Linked DNA regions of Homo sapiens: all the other regions are linked to region 2. The links are contacts of gene promoters, found by promoter capture Hi-C in blood cells and fetal thymus (Javierre and others, 2016). All regions are on one chromosome and are shown on one strand. Each heading gives the region's core, a stretch centred on a gene start or on the middle of the fragment in contact. The rest is flanking DNA. Distances are from core to core; before and after follow the strand shown. Region 1 overlaps TP53TG5 (TP53 target 5). Region 2 holds the start of NEURL2 (neuralized E3 ubiquitin protein ligase 2). Region 3 holds the start of SDC4 (syndecan 4).

What was found. The method cuts DNA at HindIII sites, captures the fragments that hold promoters and counts their contacts. A CHiCAGO score of 5 or more calls a contact.
Region 1: a contact is called between a fragment that was not itself captured here and the fragment with the promoter of NEURL2 in region 2, in 1 of 17 cell types (non-activated CD4 T cells). The highest score is 5.6, in non-activated CD4 T cells.
Region 3: the fragment with the promoter of SDC4 here is called in contact with the fragment with the promoter of NEURL2 in region 2 in 3 of 17 cell types (M0 macrophages, M1 macrophages and endothelial precursors); the score reaches 6.9 in M0 macrophages.

Annotation. Positions count from the first base shown.
Region 1 is chr20:45,373,302-45,376,776 of GRCh38, reverse strand. TP53TG5 (TP53 target 5) reads left to right here. Exons shown (of 5, transcript NM_014477.3): 4 at 1,225-1,738; 5 at 2,766-3,475. The coding sequence ends at 2,870. All of the region lies in intron 3 of SYS1-DBNDD2 (SYS1-DBNDD2 readthrough (NMD candidate)), which reads right to left. It also overlaps a transcript of SYS1 not described here. Among named protein-coding and RNA genes, the nearest start is that of TP53TG5, 3.3 kb to the left of the region's middle. RefSeq lists an enhancer at 3,375-3,434. The HindIII fragment of the contact is 5,473 bases long and covers 1-3,475 here.
Region 2 is chr20:45,889,083-45,892,457 of GRCh38, reverse strand. NEURL2 (neuralized E3 ubiquitin protein ligase 2) reads left to right here and starts at 1,250. Exons shown (of 2, transcript NM_080749.4): 1 at 1,250-2,208. The coding sequence starts at 1,467. It overlaps CTSA (cathepsin A), which reads right to left and starts at 1,123. Exons shown (of 15, transcript NM_000308.4): 1 at 1,079-1,123; 2 at 696-889; 3 at 431-542; 4 at 135-185; 5 at 1-60. The coding sequence starts at 889. It also overlaps a transcript of SPATA25 not described here. RefSeq lists enhancers at 787-836, 1,076-1,785 and a silencer at 877-1,146. The HindIII fragment of the contact is 4,274 bases long and covers 1-3,375 here.
Region 3 is chr20:45,346,843-45,349,913 of GRCh38, reverse strand. SDC4 (syndecan 4) reads left to right here and starts at 1,490. Exons shown (of 5, transcript NM_002999.4): 1 at 1,490-1,589. The coding sequence starts at 1,530. The HindIII fragment of the contact is 6,082 bases long and covers 1-3,071 here.

The sequences.
Region 1 (3,475 bases), core at 892-3,391, 520 kb after region 2:
TTTTTATTTTTTTTTACCATGCCTCCGAGACAAGTTCAAACCGTTTCCTCATAAGTCACATGACAGTATTAAGAAAGCTAACATTGATTGGTGCCTGCTAAGTACCATCCTACAGTGTTAAGCACTTAAGAATTTTCCCATTTAGTTTATTCTTCACAACAATCCTGTTAGGTAGACAGAATTATCCTAGTTTTACAGATAAGGAAGCTAAGGCTCTGAGAGGTTAAATATCTTGCCCAAATCACACAGGTGGTAAGAGGCAGAAGCAGAATCTGAGCCCGTTTGTCTGAATCCAACACCTGTGCTCTGTAAGCCACTCTGTTTCACTGCCTTCTACTTCACAGAAATAGTAAGGATCCCAAGTTGTAAGGGTCCCGAGTCTGGCATAGAGCGAGGACTCAATCAGCGGGAGCCATTATTATCATCACAGTATTGCCATTATCTGCAGCCCAAGGCCTCATCTCTCTCCACGCCCTTGGCTAGGATGGTGTTGCCACTGGGGGTTTGCAGGGGGCCCAGTCTGTTACAGACACCCTTTGGGAAAGTCTCAGCATTTAATATTTCTGTCAAGGCCACCTTTCTGGGCTCCTCTTTCTGATTTGGCCTCTAGTCGCAGGCAATCAGGAAACATAGAGCTAGAAGGATCAGGATCATCTAGCCCCATCATTTTCCAACTTAAAAATTTTTTTTTTGTATGGAGACAGAGTCTCACCATGTTGCCCAGGCTGGTCTTGAACAGTTTTCCAACTTTATTAAAGCAGTGAAACCTCTGTTCAAATATCTATTTCCAAGCCCCAATTGTGTTGTTATGAGCTGGGGAGAGGTATCCTGCCCCAGTGGGTCAGGGGAGGTGACATTGAGACACCTCCTCAGAACCCTAAGGTTCTTGGAGCACAATTTAGAAAAACTACTGGACTGTTCACCCTCCCAGCTGAAGTCCAGAGAGACAGAACCCTAATCTAGTGGCAGATGATGTAGACAATATTCATTCTTAGGGGCCTTAACTACTAGTCATGGCTTTCACCTTCCCAATCTCTCACATCCCTCTGCTAGTGCTCATCACACCTCCTCACACCAGCACAAGGCCTCTGGGCAGTAGAGAAGTTTCTTTGCAGGCCCCTCTAGCCTTTCTTAACAGGCTCCCCTGAGCTGGCTACATAGCAACTGTCTCGGGAACCAGGGCCTCGGTCCTGCTGTGCTGACTGCCTTTCCTCTCCCTGCCAGGGAAAACAGTGCCTGCAATAAAACAAAACAAAATAATGAAGAGTTCCAGGAGATCGGGTGCTCCGAGAAGGAACTCAAGTCCAAGAAATTAGAGTCCACAGGGGACCCTAAGAAAAAAGAGTACAAGGAGTGGAAGTCCCAGGTGCAGTCAGGGATGAGGAACAAGGAGAAAACGTCATTGGCGGCAATGCCACGGAAAGAAAAGCATATAGAGCCTGAGGTTCCAAGGACATCGAGGGATGATAGCTTGAACCCTGGAGTCCAGGGGAGGCAACCACTCACCGAGGGCCCCCGAGTCATCTTCATTAAGCCCTACCGCAATAGAACTCCCATGGGGCACATGAAGCAGCTGGATGTAGCCGACCAGTGGATCTGGTTTGAGGGGCTGCCCACACGAATCCACCTCCCGGCGCCCAGGGTGATGTGCAGATCCTCCACCCTGCGTTGGGTCAAGCGCCGCTGCACCCGCTTCTGCTCCGCATCACTTGAAATGCCTATGTGGCATCCATACAAGGTGGGTGTGACAACAACACTGCCAGGCTAGGTGAGATGCAAGCCCCAAGCCAGGCCCAGAGCTGGGCCCCAGAGTCAGGGTTCAGGATCTGGAGTCTTGAGTGGTGTGTGGCTGGTAGTGCTGGGAGGCTCCGCCTTCATGTCCAGAGAGGGGGAAGCCTTAGACCAACATCATACAGAAGGGTAGTGACTAGGTTGAGGCGTCTCAGGATACAGCTAGGAGATGTGTGGAAGGAGGGGCACTGAAGTGAGCCATCTCACTGCCTGAAGGCCTTAGCAGAGGTGGAAACTGCTGTGGCTCTGAATCTCACAGTCAGAGGCCTACATAAGTGGGTTTAAGGATTTCCAAATGTGGGAGGGGGGAGATGGTCAAGTAGGGCTTTGCTGCATCCCATTCCCTCTAAGATCAATTCAACTCTCTATTTATGTTTGATTGATTCATGCCTCAAATAAGATTTACTCTGAACAGGCTAGGCATGGTGGCTCACGCCTGTAATCCCAGCACCTTGGGAGGTCGAGGCAGGAAGACTGCTTGAGGCCAGGAGTTCAAGACCATCCTGGGCAACATAATGAGACACTGTCTCTACAAAAAATTTAAAAATTAGCCAGATGTGGTGCCTTGCGCTTGTAGTATCAGCTACTCAGGAGGCTGAGGTCGGAGGATCGCTTAAGCCCAGGAGTCGAGGCTGCAGTGAGCTGTGACTTCGCCACTGCACTCCAGCCTGGGCAAGAGAGCAAGACCCTGTCTTAAAAAAAAAGAAAGGAAAAAAAGATTTACTCTGAGCAGAAAGTTCCTTAGCAAAAAAAGAAGAAAATACCGCAGCCCTTTCGTGGGAGAATGAAAGTCCCACGAAAGGAAGGGGGTGAGTGCCCACCGGGTCTAGCTTAAAGGGAGGCTTTTCCTTTTTAGCAAAGGCATTTCCAACCTACCAGACACCACAGCACCCTTGTCCCTGCGCCCGCTCCCCAAACGACCAGCGCCCCCTGGGGACAGTCTTAGCGCCTAACACCGAGGTTTCTGCTGGCAGGTTGATGTGACCTGGACGAGAGCCAGAGGTGCGAGCAGAGGGTGGAGATCGCGCCATCAGCTGAAGGGGAGGAATGGGTGGCGAAATTCACGAGTCTACAAATAAGATCTTCCATATGGCACCTAAGACGAATACTGCTTACTCTGCCTGTTTGTCTGGGGCTGGGAAGGATGAAGGAAAGAGGCCTTCGGTAGAGGGAGCCTGTGTCGCGACTTCAGGCTTCCCCCACCCCCACCCCGAGGCCCCTAAGGTCAGTCTAGAACCAAAGAAGCCAGCGAGCAGCACCCCTCCCCCACCTCCGCGAGCTAGTCTCCTGAGTGGCGCGCTCTGTGAAGTCAGGGCGCTCGTGTGCTTCCTGGGTGCAAAGTGCCTCACAATCGCCCCGCGAGCTCGCAAGAGGAAACCGCGGCGCGGAGGCAGCAAGTAACTTGCCCAGGCTCACTCAGCTAGAAAGTGGCAGGAGCAAGGGCTCCTGGTTGCTCCCCATTCCATTTTCCCAAGAAAGGGAAAAGGCGAAATGAGAGCCTGCTCAGAAGTCACGAGGCAGGCGGAATAGCCCCAGCACCCTGTAGGTCATGCGCGTGCATTGCGACCTGATTGTCAAAAATTGATTGTCAAAAACTGATTGCACTGTGGCTGGTGTCAAAAAGTGGATGTCAGCTGGGCCTCCAAATGTGTCCTGCCTTGGTCACAGATCACAGAAGGCACCG
Region 2 (3,375 bases), core at 1-2,500:
GTCATCGGAGTAGGAGAAGCCCACCCCAGCTGGGGACTCCAGGTATAACACATTGGCAATCTAGAGGGGAGGGAAAAATTAGCTAAATGCCACCCCATCCAAGTGCCCAGACACACCCACAGCTCCAGCTATACCAGATTCCAAGAATAGGGGTTGTACTCCAGGGTGACACCATCTGGCTGGACCTGAGGAGGAAAGAGATGGCTGAGTAAGTCCCAAGGGCCAGCTGGGTGGAGGGAAAGGGCCACCATGAGAGGCACTTTACATGTGGGTAAAACCTCTGAGAGGTACAGGCAGCAAAGCCAATGGCATAGAGGAAAATCCCGAGGCTTAGAAGGAAGGAAACTTTTTGGAAAATCACAAAGCCCCTCTCTCGCTTTCCCCAGCCTTTTACTTTGGGAACTGTGCTTTCCCCCTGCTGTCCACTCACCAGGAAGGGGCCATGCTCTGTGAGGAGCCCATCTAGTGAGCTGCAGCCGGGACCCCCATTGAGCCAAAGCACCACAGGGCTGTTCTCGGGATCCTTCTGGGACTCCACAAACCTGGGAGGGGGGTCAGGGCAGGGTTGGCGCAGTTGGAGGGGCCCTTTCCAGCCCTCCCGGCTCCCAGGCATCCTCAGGGGTCTGCAGAACTACCCCCCATCCCTCATCCGTCATCTCTTCTCCCAATCCCGCCCAGAAGGCAGGGCGGCAGACCAGTAGTGGAGGTGCTTGGAGCCGGAGCCTTTGAGGTAGCCGGAGTACTGGCGGAAAGACGGCTGCTTGGCCAGCCCGGGGAGGCGCTGGATCTCGTCCTGGTCGGGGGCTGCCTCGCCTCGGGACGCCCAGGACACTAGCAGCAGCAGCAGCAGCAGCAGCAGGAACAGCGGCGGCGGCGCGGCTCGGATCATCTACGGGAGGCAGCAGAGGGGCTGTTGACTCGCTCCTCAGCGCTTCCGTGCAGCAGCCCCCGGGGAGTTGCTGGCGGCGCCTCCGCGAGGGAAGCCCCGGCCCCAGCGCCAGCTCCCACCCGCGAGCCTCCTCTGCCGCGCACCGATCCCGGGCTCGGGGATCCCCTCCAGCCTCCGGTGCCAGCTCACCTCTGCTCCCCCGCGTCCTTGCTCTCCAGGAGGCGCCCGGGGACTGGAAGTCATGTGTACGAGTCACGTGAACTCCGGCGCCACGTGACAGTCTTCCTCCCGCCCCTTCTTTGGTCCCTACGGACCTGGGGGGCGGTGGCGGTCAATGCCGGGTCAAGGTCCGCGGGCCTCGCAGATCGTAGCCCGGGCGCACGCGATCAGATGATCCTGTTGTGGACGGCTAAGTTGTAGGCGGGATGGCTGAGAAAGCGGCGCTAGGACCCCCGGGCAGAGGCTCGGGGAAGGGAGTCAGGGGGGAAATGCCTTACAAGGTCGCCTTGCGGTCACCATCATTGCCCGCCGCCCAAAATAGCCCCCGGCGCCAGCTGGCCTGCCCTATGGCCGAGAGATGGCTGCTGCCTCCGAGCCCGTGGATTCGGGTGCACTCTGGGGACTCGAGCGCCCGGAGCCCCCTCCCACCCGCTTCCATCGGGTGCACGGTGCCAACATCCGCGTGGACCCCTCTGGGACGCGGGCCACACGCGTGGAGAGCTTCGCCCACGGCGTGTGCTTCAGCCGCGAGCCGCTGGCCCCGGGCCAGGTCTTCCTGGTCGAGATCGAGGAGAAAGAGCTGGGCTGGTGCGGACATCTGCGTCTCGGTCTGACCGCGCTGGACCCCGCCAGTCTGGCCCCCGTTCCCGAGTTTTCTCTGCCCGATCTGGTCAACCTGGGCCACACCTGGGTCTTCGCCATCACGCGCCACCACAACCGCGTGCCCCGGGAGGGCCGCCCGGAGGCGGAGGCAGCGGCCCCCAGCCGACCTCCAACCCTCCTCGTGGAACCATATCTGCGCATTGAGCAGTTTCGCATTCCCCGGGACCGCCTGGTGGGCCGCAGCCGGCCAGGGCTCTACAGCCATCTCTTGGACCAGCTCTATGAGCTGAACGTGCTGCCTCCGACCGCGCGCCGTAGCCGCCTGGGTGTCCTCTTTTGCCCGCGCCCCGATGGCACGGCCGACATGCACATCATCATCAACGGCGAGGACATGGGCCCGAGCGCCCGGGGACTGCCAGCTGCGCAGCCCCTCTACGCGGTGGTGGACGTGTTTGCTTCCACAAAGAGCGTGCGCCTTGTCCAGCTCGAGTATGGCTGTAGGTATCCCTGGGCAGCGACCCCTCCTGGCTCAGTGTGGGGACTGGAATCTACTAGGGCTCCGTAGCCCATGTGCTAGGCCTTCGTCTGTCCGGCACTAGTTTAAGAGTGGGAGAATCTAGCTTCAAATTGCACCTCTGCTTGTGATCTTGCACAAGCCTCTACATGGTTTTGGGCCTTGGTACCTATCTTGGTTGATTGATTAAGATGCCCTACAAGTTCCCTTTTAGTTTTGATAGTGTTTCCTGTATTCACCTAGGGCAGGGATTCTAAACCAATTTTAGATATTAGGGGCCTCTTTGAGAATTGTTTGCCCTTTTCTTAGAAACATGCTTGGCCGGGCACAGTGGCTCACACCTGTAATCCCAGCACTTTGGGAGGGGGAGGCAGGCAGATCACTTGAGGCCAGGAGTTCGAGACCAGCCTGGCCAACATGGTGAAAGCCTGTCTCTACTAAAAATACAAAAAGTAGCTGGGTGTGGTGGCATGTGCCAATAATCCCAGCTATTCAGAAGGCTGAGGCAGGAGAGTCACTTGAACCCGAGAGGTGGAGGTTGCAATGAGCCGAGATCTCACCAGTGCACTCCAGCCTAGGCAACAGAGCAAGACTCTGAAAAAAAAAAGAAAGAGAGAGAGAGAGGAAGAGAGAGAAAGCAAGCAAGCAAGCAAGCTAGCTAGCTCAAGCCTGGGCAACAAAGTGAGACCCCATCTGTACAAAAAATTAAATAATTATCTGGGCATGGTGGTGCATGCCTGTAGTCCCAGCTATTTGGGAGGCTAAGGCAGGAGGATCGCTTGAGCCCAAGAATTGAAGGCTGCAGTTCACTGAGCACTGCACTTCAGCCTGGGTGACAGAGCAAGACCCTCTCTCTTTAAATAAAAAAAAAAAAAGAAAGAAAAGAAAGAAACATGCTCATAGACTTGGGCATATTGGCTATTGGCTTCGAGGCATAACAAACCCCAGACTGAGAGCTTCTTAATGCTGAGTATGATTCATTATAGCCCTGGTAAGCATTGCAGTTATACCTCTCATCACATTTCATGAACTCAATGCACCAGAACCCTCTTTGTGCCAGGCCTGTGCTGGAGGCTTCAGTTGCACAGGCAAATCAGACACTACCCCTGCCCCCAGAAGCTGCTAAGTGAATGGGGAAGGGATTGTGCTA
Region 3 (3,071 bases), core at 241-2,740, 540 kb after region 2:
CAGTTCTCAGAGAGATCAAACTTTTGAAAAAGTTCAAAATCTGGTAGATGAAGCCCTTAGAACAGACGTCAGCCACTCTGAGACCAGCGTCAGAGTGGTCTCAGAGTGGCTGAGGCCCACCGCCTATTTTTGTTCAGCCCACTGCTAAGAATGGTTTTTGCATTTTTATTTTTTATTTTTTTGAGACGGAGTTTTGCTCTGTTGCCCAGGCTGGAGTGCAGTGGGGAGATCTCAGTTCACTGCAACCTCCGCCCCTCGGGTTCAAACGATTCTCCTGCCTCAGCCTCCAGAGCAGTTGGGATTACAGGCGCAGGCAACCATGCCTGGATAATTTTTGTATTTTGTAGAGACGGGGTTTCAGCATGTTGGCCAGGCTGGTCTCAAACTCCTGAGCTCAAGTGATCCGCCGCCTCAGCCTCCCAAAGTGCTGGGATTACAGGCATGACTCACTGCATCCGGCCTGCATTTTTATTATAAAATGTCATTTATTTATTTATTTATTTATTTATTTATTTATTTATTTATTTTTGAGACAGGGTCTCACTCGGTCACCCAGGCTGGAGTGCAGTGAGCGATCATGGCTCACTGCAACTTTCACCTCTCTGGCTCAAGCAGTCCTCCCACCTCAGCCTCCAGAGTAGCTGGGCCACAGGGGTGCACCACAATGCCTGGTTAATTTCTTTAAAAACTTTTTGTAGAGATGGGGGTCTCATTATGGTTGCCCAGGCTGGTCTCCAATTCCTGGGCTCAAGGGATCCTCCTATTCCTCGGCCTCCCAAAGTGCTGGGATTACAGGCGTGAGCCATAGAGCCCAGCCGATTTTTGCATGTTTAAATGGTTGGGAATAAAGTCAAAAGAATAATAATATTTCGTGACACATGAAAATTATATTAAATTCAAATGTCGGTGTCTATAAATAATGTTTTATTAGGACCTAGCTGCCCTCATTCCTTTAGTATTTATGGCTGCTTTTGAGCTACGACGCTCGAGTTTGAATAGTTGCCACAGGGATCGTATGGCCCGCAAAACCTAAAATATTTAGCCCTTTACAGAATAGTTTGCTGTCCCCTGTCTTAACACGGTTCACATCCCATTTGGGAAGTTCTGTGTCTTCAGAGGGGAGCACACCCGGTATGAAGGCTGGTCTAAACTCAACACCCTAGGGAAGTCCTTCCCGTCCCTGGGCCTTAGTTTCCCCAACTATAAAATGGGGTTAGCCGCAGTGATCTCTGGGGACCTGCCTGGCAGTGGGTCAAATAAATAAAGGGAGTTGGAGCTCCCGGAGGGTAGGACTAGGGGTTGAGTAGGAGCCGGCGGGCTCGGGCAGGGCGGGTCCCTTGGGGTTTCCAACTCCGCGGGCGGGCGCAGTGCCCCGCAGGCCTCGCTTCCACTGGGGAATTCCGGGCGGGGTGCGGGCGGCGGGGCGGGGGCGGGCCGGGGCGGGGCCGGTAGGCCGCCTATAAGATGGGTGGCGCGCCCGCCCGGGGCCACTCGCCGCAGCCTGCGCGCCTTCTCCAGTCCGCGGTGCCATGGCCCCCGCCCGTCTGTTCGCGCTGCTGCTGTTCTTCGTAGGCGGAGTCGCCGAGTCGGTGGGTGCTTGGAGGTTCCCGGGCTGGGGGCGAAGCGGGGGCGCAGGCCGGTGCCTCCTTTGTTCGTCGGAGCGTGGGATGGGGGGGGGCAGATCGGGGGTACGCTACCCCCAACCGGACACCGAGGCCCGGGAAACTTTGTTGGAAACTTTGCTCCGGGGTCACGGGCCAGCCTCCGGGATGGCTTCACGCGCCGTGCGCCCCTCGCCTGTTGCTCTTCCCGCCTCCCCGGGCCTCAGCCCCGCCGCGGGCTACGGGCTCGTTAGTGACTAAGCCGGTGTCAACTCTTCAACTCCCACACCCTCGTCCCTTCCCTGGTGACCCTGGGGCAGGCTTGGAGCGCTGAATCCCCTCCTCGCTCTCGGGGCGCCCAGAGCAGACAGCTTTAGGATCCGAGATGGCCCTGGGGGTCGGGGGGCTGCGTGTACTCGGAAGGGGGAGGGTTTTAGGGTTGTGCGAGGCCCTCTTTCACACACCAAGGAGAACTGAGCCCTAACCTCAGTTCTGGCCCCAGCTCTGTCATTGACTTGTGACTTAGGGCAAAGTCCTGCCCTTCTGAATCTCTTCCCAATACTGCACCAAGGGTCTGAGGGAATGGGGCAAGAGGGGACACTGCGTTAGGGTTTCTAGAAAGTTGGGGACTCTGCTCTTTTCGAGGACAGAGGAGAGGAATGGTTTAGACTCAACACTTAGCCAGGAGCTGAGCCTCTGCTTTCTGCAAGAAGTGTGTTCATTTTTTCTCAATTGCAGATAAGAAAATTGAAGCATCCACCTTGAGTGAGGTGAAGGGGGTAGGGGGGAGAGAAGGCCTCAATCAGCCCAGGGAAACCTTTCCTTCTCACTGTCCACTGGCCTCCGTCATAGCTGTCCCTGGGCCAGCAGAAGCTCTATCCATGCCCGCAGCCGGCTTAGGAGGAGGGGGGCAATCTCATCTGGGAAGTTGGGGGGCATGGGAATTACTGGTGAAGGCAATCTGTCCCCCACAGCCTGAGCTTTGTGCCCCCTTTGTGCCCTTTAGCCCCAGTTTTCAGAGCGAGTGAGTCCTTGCAGTTTAACCATTAATGTTAATTTCTTTGAAAGCCTTGGGGCTCCTGTTCCTCTGAATTTACTTAGCGGAAGGTTGATTCTGCCTGCAGGCTCTTCTTGAGGAATGAATGAGACCCTAGGCAATACTTCCAGCACAATTCCAGGCATGCCATGATGATTGCAAACGTGGAGCGCCTTTGTCGGGGGGCCAGACATTGCTCTAATAACTTTCTAATGGGTATATCCAGGAGCTTAATTCCAACAACAATCTTACTGTGTACTGTTCTTAAACTGGTCCTGAGGCTAGAGAGGTTAAGTAACTTGCCCAGGGTCACACAGTTAATACACAATAAATGGGTGAGTCAGATTGAAATTTAGGCAGCCAGGCTTTCAAGTTTCTGCTTTAGCTTAACTTCTACTCTTTGTGCTACTCCAGGTGTCCCATCGTTGGTAACT